Regions from separate parts of the Homo sapiens genome. Here regions 2 and 3 are each linked to region 1. The links are contacts of gene promoters, found by promoter capture Hi-C in blood cells and fetal thymus (Javierre and others, 2016). All regions are on one chromosome and are shown on one strand. Each heading gives the region's core, a stretch centred on a gene start or on the middle of the fragment in contact. The rest is flanking DNA. Distances are from core to core; before and after follow the strand shown.

The links. Contacts are between HindIII fragments. The CHiCAGO score rates a contact against its expected background, and 5 or more counts as called.
Region 2: a fragment that was not itself captured here is called in contact with the fragment with the promoter of COL23A1 in region 1 in 1 of 17 cell types (endothelial precursors); the score reaches 7.1 in endothelial precursors.
Region 3: a contact is called between a fragment that was not itself captured here and the fragment with the promoter of COL23A1 in region 1, in 6 of 17 cell types (megakaryocytes, endothelial precursors, M2 macrophages and 3 more). The highest score is 14.8, in megakaryocytes.

Annotation. Positions count from the first base shown.
Region 1 is chr5:178,588,125-178,592,009 of GRCh38, forward strand. COL23A1 (collagen type XXIII alpha 1 chain) reads right to left here and starts at 2,269. Exons shown (of 29, transcript NM_173465.4): 1 at 1,780-2,269. The coding sequence starts at 2,073. RefSeq lists an enhancer at 715-1,615 and a silencer at 2,271-2,470. The HindIII fragment of the contact is 4,652 bases long and covers 1-3,632 here.
Region 2 is chr5:179,538,605-179,542,489 of GRCh38, forward strand. The region is part of intron 4 of LOC128966623 (a long non-coding RNA gene); the gene reads left to right. LOC105377762 (a long non-coding RNA gene) reads right to left here. Exons shown (of 4, transcript XR_941315.4): 2 at 2,071-2,228. Among named protein-coding and RNA genes, the nearest start is that of RUFY1, 10 kb to the right of the region's middle. The HindIII fragment of the contact is 664 bases long and covers 1,587-2,250 here.
Region 3 is chr5:179,489,493-179,493,377 of GRCh38, forward strand. LOC124901224 (U4 spliceosomal RNA) reads right to left here and starts at 2,665; the gene lies at 2,523-2,665. The HindIII fragment of the contact is 5,384 bases long and covers 1-3,885 here.

The DNA.
Region 1 (3,885 bases), core at 1,019-3,518:
AACAGAGAGAGAGAGAGAACACACACCCTGTCCAATAACTCATTGTTCAAGCACTGTAGTTCACCCAGGTAAAATTCAGTGCAGCCGGGAGGGGGGAAGCCTGGGAGAGCAACTGCAGTCTCTCCCGCTGAAGTTCAGGACTCAAAAATCAACACTTCCCAGCAGTGGCTGCCTGCCCAGGATGCCCCTCCCTCCTAAAATAGACACAATTTGTAGTTCCTTGTAAAATGGTTGTATCAGGACTTCTGATTTACTCAATCAGGGCTTGCGGTTTATTTTTAGCAAATAAGAGAGGCCTCCTATGAGAAAGAGCAGCCACACTTATAGCGCTAACAGGTAGAAACTTTACTGGCCCTCTATAAATCAATTCAACACCCTGGTCTCCAGGCATTTGCCAAAAGCTAATGGGCGGCAATTATGAAACCATCGCCAGGAGTTTCCAGCAGGGCTGAGAGAGAGTTTTAAGTCTGCAGGCCCTTTCAAGGGTAAAATAGGAAATCATTTCATGAAGCAGCAATTTTACCCAGAACCCAGCTAGAAGAGATGTGATCCTAGCTTAAATTAAAGTGACTAAGAAACAGGTGGGGTGAACAAGGAGGTGTGGTACGCAAGTCATCTTCTCCCACTTTCCTTTGGAATCCAAAGGAACTCAACATTGGAAACACAGCTGGATACGTTAATAAAGATCCCAGCTGGGCAGTCTAGGGAATTGGGGGTGTACAGGCCAGTGCTCCCTCTCCTCCACCTTGAAACCCTGCCTGTTTTCACACAGCAATTGAGGATGCGCCCTTGGACAGCGACCTTGGGGTCTGGAGCAGCCATCTATCCCAGGAGAAGGAGGAAGGCTCGGCAGGGGAGGCTCTGGCCAGCCCACCAGGGCCTGTCCAGTTTCGTGGGGAGGGGAACTGCCGCACATGCCGCACACAAAAGGCGGAGGCTTTGACCAACATGCTGGGTGAGGGCTTGGAGGACCCAAAGGTGGCTCTTTCTTTGAAGACACACAGCAGCAATCTTAACCCTTAGAAGTGTCACAGAGCCTCATATGAGCTTTCAAGTAAGCTGTGGAAGTCGCGATTCCCAGGTAAGGGACGGGAAACTCCGGATGTCCTGCGAGCCCACACCCCAGATGGCACCGCCTGAAACCAGAATCCAGGTCCTCCACCCCCGATTGTTTCTCCTTCCTCTCATCTTACCAAGTCATGTGGGCGCCCCCACCCCCATCCCCGAGGCCTCAGTGCGACGGTGACCGCTCAGTCTTGGGGCCTGAGCTGCTGGAGACACACTGGAGCACAGCGGGGCCCAGCCCTCGGGCCTGTCTGAGGCTTTCCTCCGCCGTGACCACCGCCTCTCCAGGTGTACCAGCGTTGGTTAGGAACAGTAGGTGCTACTGGTCACAGTCACCAGATACTTCCCACGAGCCTCATCTTTATCCCCGACTCTGGCCGCCGGCGGGAAGCGGCGTGTCCGAGCGCACACCCCGTGGAGACTGACCCTAGGTCTGTTACTCCAAAGTCCCTGGTCTCTCCTTCCCCTTTCTCGCGGCCGCCTGCCTGGCACGGGACCCTGAGGCCGGAGCGGAGACCGCAAAACCCCTTGGGGCCGGCACCCCCTGCCTCCGCCTTGGCGCAGACGTGCCCATCTCTGGGACGGCCCCGAGCGCACGCAGCCGGCGGGCGACCCTCCTCCCAGAGACCTGCACGCTGCCCCCGGCTCCCAGCGTACCGCCACCCTCAACCCGACACACCCAAGTCCGCCCCAGCCACGCGCCAAGACGCTCACCTCCCGCAGCAGGCGCTCCAGGTGCGGCTCGGCCCAGGCGTCCAGGGCGCCTGGCGGCCCCGCGCGCCGCAGCAGCTCCCGCTCCTCCTCGAGCGCCGCCACCCGGCCCTGCAGCGCGGCCGCCTGGACACCCAGCAGCAGGCAGGCAGCCGCCGAGCCCACGGAGAGCAGCAGGCACAGCGCGCTCACCGCCCGGGACCCGGCCGTCGTCGCCGAGCGCCCTCCGCCGCCGCCGCCCGCCGCATTGCCCTTCCCCGCGTCGCCGCCGCCACCGGCGCGCTCGCCTGGGCCCATGGCGCGTTCGTCGCGCGTGGACTCTCCGAGGGGGCGGTGCTGCTGGGGCAGAGGCTGGGTGCGAGAGGAGCAGGCGGGACAGCCCGAGGCACGAGGTCCGCCGGGCGCGGGGGTTAGCCTCCGGGTAGCAGCGGATCGCCGCGCACGCCCCCTTCGCCGCAGCCAGCTCCTCCACAGCGGCCACTTTGGGCAGTTTCCTCTATGCAAATAGACCCTGCCAGAAAAGGAGCAGGGACCCACCCAGGGGAGGAGCGGCCGGGCTGGCCCCGCGCGGCGAGGGGGCGGGGGCGAGGAAGGAGCGAGCTCCTCGGAGCCACCCGTCGGCGCCGGGCTGATCCCACGCGCAGCGCGCACCTCTGCCCTCACCTAGCCCGGGCGCCGGCACCCGCCCCCGCACGCACCTCTGAGGCTTCCCCAGCCCAAGCCCGCACTGTGGACCCCAGAGGTCGGAGGGGAGCCCGGCGACACCGCGCCCCTTCTGCAGCCCACCCCTGGCTGGAGCACCCACCACTCGTGCCTTAGCACATTCCTCTAAACTTGTGAATTACCTTTCTGACACTTGTAAAAGTTCAAAACTTCAAATCCTGCAAAAAACTGAGTGGGTCTGTCCTCGGTGGTGGATTAGCGCCGCTTCGTGGCGGAAAGCGACCTCTGCGCACTCACATTTAGAGAGGCAGGGTCGAGATTGCGCCAAACAGAAATACGCCCCTTAGAATCTTCTCACGAGTTCTTAGCTGCCGGACTTCGGTGCGGGAAACAAAAATGGTAAGACTGTTTCTGGCCTGGAGAGGGCTTTTGAGAAAACTGAGACTATAACGAATGGGAAAGATTCAGAAAATGAACTTCAAGTCTTGTTCAACTGATGACTTAATTCTGTATTAGACGCACAACTTGGCCAAAAATTATGATCTAGTATGCACCACACTTAACCTGTACTGCGATTCTGCTGCAAATTTAAATCACAGGGCTGAGGCAAGAAGGCTGTGGCGTACAGCCTGGGTCCAGAGAACAGAATGAGTGGCACTAACAAGTCTTGGCAGGAAAGGGAAGAACTGCTGGAAGTCAGGCTGGGTTCAGATTCCTACCAGGCATATTCATGTCCTAAATGGGTCCCAAGTAACTCTTTCGCTAACTCCTGTAATACCTAAATGAAACAACAAACCAGCAGTTCAGATCTTTGTGATTTGAGTAACCCCCCAACCATTTTTTTTTAAGAAAAATAACGTTATATCCATCTTCCCTCTCACTCTGGATATCTTCTGGTTGTCTCATTTCTGTGGATACTCACCTTTTAGAACTGTTGAGTGCCTCTGGCTAACATGTTCCATCTCCTTCCCTTAATTCAGAGGGGAACCCCTGAGATGGCCGGGGGTTATGGTTGATAGACTTGGCTCTGTGCTAAAGTCTGGTGTATGCCCAATAGAATGAAAAGTTGGCCTCATTCTGAAAAGAGGCCAACACCCTCTTACAAGTCAGCACTACATTTCTTACAGGCACATAAACTGCACACCACCTACCTATGTTAATGTTACTGCATGTATTGTTTGCCATGTTCCTGAAGCTTCTGTGTATTGAAAAAGCCAAGCTCACTGGCCCCTGGGCCTCTGCCCTTGCCTACCACCTCACTACCTGCATTCCTGCTCTCAGATCGTTAAACGGCAAGCCCCTCCTCATCCTCCAGGTCAAGGTCCTCAACCTCACTGCTTCTAAAAGATCTTCCCAGACTGCCCAATTTAAGGTGGCCCACAAGATTAATCAGGGAATTGGGGCGGCTGAATTAAGATGGAAATACTGTCTGCAACTCATTCTAAA
Region 2 (3,885 bases), core at 669-3,168, 950 kb after region 1:
TCACAGTAGCTAAGATATTGAAAAAACCTAAGCGGATTTATGGATAAAGAAAATGTGTTGTGTGTAAATGTGAAGGAAGGCAGGCGAGGTGGCTCGTGCCTGTAGTCCCAGCTACTTGGAAGGGAGAGTCAAAGGATTGCTTGAGGCCAAGAGTTCCAGCCTGGGTAATACAGTAAGATTCCATCTCTTTTTTAAAAAGGAATGCAAGTCAGCCCTTAAAAAGAAGGAAATCCAATAGGCGCAGTGGCTGATGCTTGTAATTCCAGCACTATGGGAGGCTGAGGCAGGTGGATCACCTGAACTCAGGAGTTTGAGACCAGCCTGGGCAACATGGAGAAACCCTGTCTCTACAAAAAATACAAAAATTACCTGGGTGTGGTAGCACACACCTGTAGTCCCAGCTACTTGGGTGGCTGGGATGGAAGAATCACTTGAACCCGGGGAAGCTGAGGAAAGACAGCGCCACTGCACTCCAGCCTGGGTGAGGGAGTAAGACCCAGCCTCAAAAAAAAAAAAAAAAAAAAGGAAATTCTGTCACTGTGACAACTTGGATAAACACGGAGGACATCATACTATGTAAAATAAACTAGGCACAGAGAAACAAATACTTAATGATCTCACATGTGGAATCTAAAACCTCAAACTTATAGAAAGACAGAGTAGAATGGCGGTTATCAGGGGAGGGCTGGGGAATGGGGGTAGGAAATGGGGAGATGATGATGAAAGGAACGGAGTTTCTGGAGAACTAATGTACATATAGCATGGTGACTATATGTAATAGTGTATTGTACACTTGAAAAGTGCTAAGAGAGGCCAGGCGTCGTGGCTCACACCTGTAATCCCAGCACTTTGGGAGGCCAAGGTCGGCAGATCGCTTGAGGTCAGGAGTTCGAGGCCAGCCTGGGCAACACGGTGAAACCCCATCTCTACTAAAAATACAAAAATTAGCCGGGTGTGGTGGTGCACACCTGTAGTCCTAGCTACTCAGGAGGCTGAGGCAGGAGAATCACTTGAACCCAGGAGGTGAAGGTTGCAGTGAGTCAAGATCGCACCACTGCACTCCAGTGTATGCAATAGAGCGAGACTCCATCTCAAAAACAACAAAAAAAGAAAATTGCTGGCCGGGTGCAGTGGCTCACACCTGTAATCCCAGCGCTTTGGGAGGCTGAGGCAGGCAGATCATGTGAGGTCAGGAGTTCAAGACCAGCCTGGCCAACATGGCGAAACCCCGTCTCTACTTATAATACAAAAATCAGCCAGGCATGTTGGCGGGCGCCTGTAATCCCAGCTACTCAGGAGGCTGAGGCAGGAGAATCGCTGGAACCCGAGGGGCAGAGGCTGCAGTGAGCCAAGATTGTGCCACTGCACTCCAGCCTGGGTGACAGAGCAAGACTCTGTCTCAAAAAAAAAAAAAAAAAGAAAAAAAGAAAAGAAATTGCTAAGAGAGTAGACTGCAAATGTTCTCACCACAAAACAATGAAAAGTATGTGAGGTGATGAATATGCTAGTTAGCTTGATTTAATCATACATATACCAAAACATCACATCATATAGCATAAATATATATAATCTTTATATGTCTGTTAAGCTTTAATAAAGCTGAAAAATAACAAAAAGAGATGTATCTCTATAAAACAGGGTTTTTTTTGTTTTTGTTTTTGTTTGAGACAGAGTATCAGTCTGTTGCCCAGGCTGGAGTGCAATGGCTCAGTCTCGGCTCACTGCAACCTCCGCCTCCCGCATTCAAACAATTCTCCTACCTCACCCTCCCAAGTAGCTGGGACTACAGGCACGTGCCACCACACTCGGCAAGTTTTTGTATTTTTAGTAGAGACGGGGTTTCACTATGTTGGCCAATCTGGTCTCGAACTCCTGACCTCGTGATCTCCCCACCTTGGCCTCCCAAAGTGCTGGGATTACAAACGTGAGCCACCGCGCCTGGCCAAAACAAAGTTTTTCAAGTCCTAACCAATGCATCATCTTAATGCAATAAAATTTGAATATAATTTTTTAAAAAGAAATATATCCTGAAAAGTTTAAAAATAAAAGGTCATGATGTATGTAACTCACCCTCACAAAGTCCAAGGAAAAATGTGCTTATATCCATACAGATCTAGAGAGGGAGCACATGCAGATGATGACACGAATGAAGTAAACGTGAGCTCCAGGTGAATTGGGGTCAAGGGCATACAGTTGTACTTTGTGCCATCTTTATTCTCGTAACTCTTCTGTAGGATTGAAATAACAAAAAGCTTTTTAAACTATTAGGGTCTGGAATTTCCTTTGAAATACACCAAAGAGTAAGAGTAATAGATGAAATTAGGAATGATAAATGGATAGATATGGTAAAAGTGTTATAATCTCTGTTCAATTTTCTTTTTTTTTTTTGAGACAGAGTCTCGCTCTGTTGCCCAGGCTGGAGTGCAGTGGCACAATCTAGACTCGCTGGAACCTCCACCTCCCGGGTTCAAGCGATTTTTGTGCCTCAGCCCCTCTAGTAGCTGGGATTACAGGCATGCGCCACCACGCCCAGCTAATTTTTGTATTTTTAGTAGAGATGGGGTTTCACCATGTTGGCCAGGCTGGTCTCAAACTCCTGACTTGAAGTGATTCACCCATCTTGGCCTCCCAAAGTGCTGAGATTGCAGGCATGAGCCACCGCACCCGGCTTATCTTCAATTTTTTTTTTTTTTTTTTTTTTTTGAGATGGAGTCTCACTCTGTCGCCCAGGCTGGAGTGCAATGGTGCGATCTCAGCTCACTGCAACCTCCACCTTCCAGGTTCAAGCGATTCTCCTACCTCAGCCTCCTGAGTAGCTGGGATTACAGGCACGCGCCACCAGGCCCAGCTAATTTTTGTATTTTTAGTAGAGACGGGGTTTCACCATGTTGGTCAGGCTGGTCTTGAACTCCTGACCTCGTAATCTGCCCGCCTCGGCTCCCAAAGTACTGGGATTACAGGCGTGAGCCACCTCGCCCAGCCTCAGATTTGTTTATAATAAAATGGTGTGGGGCAGAGAGGAGAACAAGACAAATCAATATGACGTGTCATGGAAAAATGTCACCAAATCAGGAAGTCTTTTGTTGTAGAAGCCACTGGAAGGGGCGTAAAGCCCACCTTTCTTTTCATACTGTCTCCCGGTATTTCCTCTGAAAGCAGGAGTTCAGCTGCACTTGAGATTCTTACTACCCTGTGGCTGGTATGAGGTGCCAAACAGGGAAAGGATTGGTCACTTCACCAACGTAATGACAGCTCTCTCTTAGAGACACATTACACAAATCCTCAGGTTAACTTTTTTGCAAGTCCTTTAATAAATACAAGATTATTTTCATAAAATAACTGCCATGTTCTGATTTATCCTAGCAATAGCACCTACACCCCATTTAGTTACAACCACCACAAAAAGCTCTGATGTTCCAAACTCAAGATAGACAGGGTCCTCTTTATCTGAAGATACTTTCCCCAAGTCCCTGCAGCTACAAGACCATTTGGAGAAGCAAAGGTATTCGTAATGATAACATATTCACTAATGAATTAACCACTTAAAAACTGATCCCTATTCAAAATTTACTCCCTGCTGAACCCCAAAGCATCGATCCCCATGTCCCATACCAATGGCCAGCCAGCCTCTCACTCGTTCTCAGATGTCTAGGATGCCAGTCATTTGGACGGTTAAATTGTGAATCTTACACACAATGCAAGATTTCACAGAATCAACAAGTGACATTAAAGCCCCACTCGAGTGGCATACAAAGCCACCGACAGGCGAGGTCAGCAGAGTTATGGACCAATCAACAAGTGAACAGAAGGAAATTAACGCTGATGACTCACCAGGAGCTTCAAAATAGAATGGTTTGAAAAAAGCAATAAATTTAAAATGAATTA
Region 3 (3,885 bases), core at 402-2,901, 900 kb after region 1:
ACAGTGAAACCCTGTGTTTACTAAAACAATACAAAAAAAATTAGCCGGGCATGGTGGCGGGTGCCTGTAGCCCCAGCTACTCGGGAGGCTGAGGCAAGAGAATGGCGTGAACCCAGGAGGCAGAGCTTGCAGTGAGCCGAGATTGCACCACTGCACTCCAGCCTGGGCAACAGAGAGAGACTCCGTCTCAAAATAAATTAATTAAATAAAGCGGGAGGCTGAGACAGTCACTTGAGGCTAGGAGTTCAAGACCAGCCTGGCCAACATGGCAAAACCCCTTATCTACTAAAAATACAAGAATTAGCCTGGCATGGTGGCGCACCTGTAATCCCAGCTACTTGGGAGGCTGAGGCAGGAGAATCACTTGAAGCCAGGAGGCGGAGGTTGCAGTGATCTGAGATCACCCCACTGCACTCTAGCTTGGATGACAAAGCAAGACTCCATCTCAAAAAAAAAAAAAAAGTAAAGTGGAATTTTAGAAATCTAGGCACATTGCAGCAAAATTTTGGAATACCAAGGAAAAAAGGAAAATCCTCATAGTTTTCTGACCGAGAGAATAGGTTGTCACAATAGAATGAAAGTCAGCTTGACATCAAGACTTATCATCAATCCCGAATCCTAAAAGATAGTAGAGCAATTTCTCTAACATTCCAAAGAAAAAACTATTCGTAATCTAGGATCCAAGACCCAGCCAATCTAGCCTTAAATTGGGGGTGCAAAATAAAGACATTTTCATGCATATATGGGTTCATCCCACCTATAAACTCCCCCCAAAGAATCTAAGAAAATAAAAGAGATCAACTACAGTAAGTGCTGGAGGGAGAAATAAAGACAGAGATGATGCACTAAACTGGTCTTAAAAATATGAAACTAAAGTCTCCAATGAGCTCAGTGTGGTAGGGAATTGGTCCCAGGCGGGCAGGAGCAGCGGCGAGAGAACGGCGATTAAATTCACATTCCCAGTGCGGGCAGGACTGTCCCAAAGCAAGAACAGAGCTTTCTGCAAATGATCCGGTCAGACCTGTCTCACTTCTGAAAACAACCTCATTGGGATTTCTAATAAACTGGACTGATTCACTAAATAATTGGACTAGCAAACCAAACCAGTTTTACCTTTTTTTTTTTTTTTTGAGACAGAATCTCGCTCTGTCGCCCAGGCTGGAGTGTAGTGGCATGATCTCAGCTCACTGCAAGCTCCGCCTCCCGGGTTCACGCCATTCTCCTGCCTCAGCCTCCCGAGTAGCTGGGTCTACAGGTGCCCGCCACCACGCCTGGCTAATTTTTTGTATTTTTAGTAGAGACAGGGCTTCACCGTGTTAGCCAGGATGGTCTCCATCTCCTGACCTTGTGATCTGCCCACCTCGGCCTCCCAAAGTGCTGGAATTACAGGCGTCAGCCACAAAGCTCTTTCTCTTAACTTACATTGTCAGGAAACTGGTAACATAGATTGAATGACCCGCCCCAGTTTTTCACCCACACTCACACCCTCGCCATAGCCTCCCTTTCCCACCCCTTGACTTTGGGCTTGGCCAAAGGGATGCCAGCAGGCATGACACAGCAAAACTGGAAATGTGTTTGTGGGGTTAGATGTGCCGTCTCTCAGGGCCCTGCCATCAGCCAGAGACGAAACTGCCCCTGCTGGTCCCAGGAAGAGGATGAGAGGCATGTGGAGCAGAGCTGCCCAGCCAACCCACAAACTCATGAGTAAGAAATAAATGATTATTACTGTTTGCCACTGAGATGTGGGGATGGTTTGTTACACAGCATAAGTGTGACAATAGCTAACTGATACTCAGAGGGCAAGTGCCACTGCAGCAAACATGAGGAGGAATTCCTGAGCCTTTATATTAAAGTGGCTGCTCTCACTAGAGACACGATTGGACTCTGGCTGGTGCGATGACTCACACCTGCAGTCCCAACACTTGGGAGGCCAAGAGCAGAGGATTGCTTGAGCCCAGGAGTTTGAAAGCAGGCTGGGCAATGGATCAAGACTCCATCTCTACAACAACAACAACAAAAACACAGTGTTTTGAACTGAAGGAGCCATACAAAGGATGTCATACAGATTTATTAAATTCAAAACCAGGCTGGGCACGGTGGCTCACACCTGTAATCCCAGCACTTTGGGAGGCAGAGGTGGGCGGATTACCCGAGGTCAGAAGTTCAAGACCAGCCTGGTCAACATGGTGAAACCCCGTCTCTACTAAAAATACAAAAATTAGTCAGGCGTGGTGGTGCACGCCTCTAATCCCAGCTACTTGGGAGGCTGAGGCAGGAGAATTGATTGAACCTAGGAGGTGGAAGTTGCAGTGAGTCAGGATTGCGCCACTGCACTCGAGCCTGGGCGACAAGAGCGAAAGTCAGTTAAAAAAAAATCCAGAAAAACTACTTTTCTGGAATGCAAATCAGAATAGTGGCTGCTTGGGGATTAGGGGACAAGGGAAGTTGAGTAGACTGTAAAGGGATTGGGGGGAATTTTCTACAATGGTGGCAATGTTTTCTGCCTTGATTGGGGTGTTGGCTACAGATAGATATTTGTAAAAAGCCATTGAATTATATATTTAAGATCTGTGTGTTTTACTAAACTATTCCTCAATTTTTCAATTAGCAATAATCACGCCTCGGATAAACCTCATTGGCTATGATACTGCCACTGCACAAAGCTATTCCTCAATTTTTAAAAACATGTCTGTATGGAGTGGATACCCAGACCAGGGTGAGGCTGAGGTGCAAACAGGCCTACCTGAGGTGCCGGGCAGCCTTCCAAGACTCCAAGACTAGGTGGGCTCTGGGCAGACAAAGCCTCCCTCTCACAAAAGGTCTGGGAACCCTTTTCAGGGGGCTCAGAGTCCGGCCACATCTCTAGGTTTTCTGACGTCCTAGACACACCATGAGAAAGAACTTTGACTGGGCTCTCAATCTGGTTGGTGACCTAGGATATGGGGCTCATACCCAGGACCAAGAACCCAGGGCTTCTATCCAGAGCCTAGGACTTGGGGCTTATACCCACGGCCTAAAACCTGGGGCATATACCCAGGGCCTAGGACACAGGTTTATGCCCAGGGCCTAGGACACAAGGCTAATACCTAGAAAGAACACAGAACTTACACCCAGGGCCTGGAACTCGGGGCTTATAACCAGGGCCTAGGACATGGGGCTTATACCCAGAGACTAGGACACAAGGCTTATAACCAGAAAGGACACAGAACTTATATTCAGGGCCTAGAACCCGGGGCTTATACCCAGGGATTAGGACATGGGGCTTATACCCAGAGCCTAGGACACAAGGCTTATACCCAGAAAGGACGTGGGGCTTATACTCAGAGCCTAGGACACAAGGTTTATACCCAGAGCCTAGGACATGGGGCTTATACTCAAAGCCTAGGACATGGGGCTTATACCCAGAGCCTAGGAAACACAAGGCTTATATGCAGAAAGGACACAGGGCTTATACCCGGAGCCTAGGACATGGGGTTTAACCCAAGGTCTAGGACACAAGATTTATACCCAGAGCCTAGGACAAGGGGCTGAGAACCAGAGAATAGGACACAAGGCTTATACCCAGAACCTAGGACAGAAGGTTTATACCCAGAGCCTAGGACACAAGGCTTGTATCCAGAGCCTAGGACCCGGGGCTTCTACCCAGAGCCTAGGACCCAGGCCTTACACCTAGAGCCTAGGAGGCGGGGCTTACACCCAGAGCCTAGAACCCGGGGCTTATACCCAGAGTCTAGGACCCTAGGCTTATACCCAGGGCCTAGGAAGCAAGGCTTATACCCAGAGCCTAGGACACAAGGTTTATATGCAGAACCTAGGACCCGGGGCTTATACCCAGAACCTAGGACACAAGGCTTATACCCAGAGGCTAGGACGCGGGGCTCATAT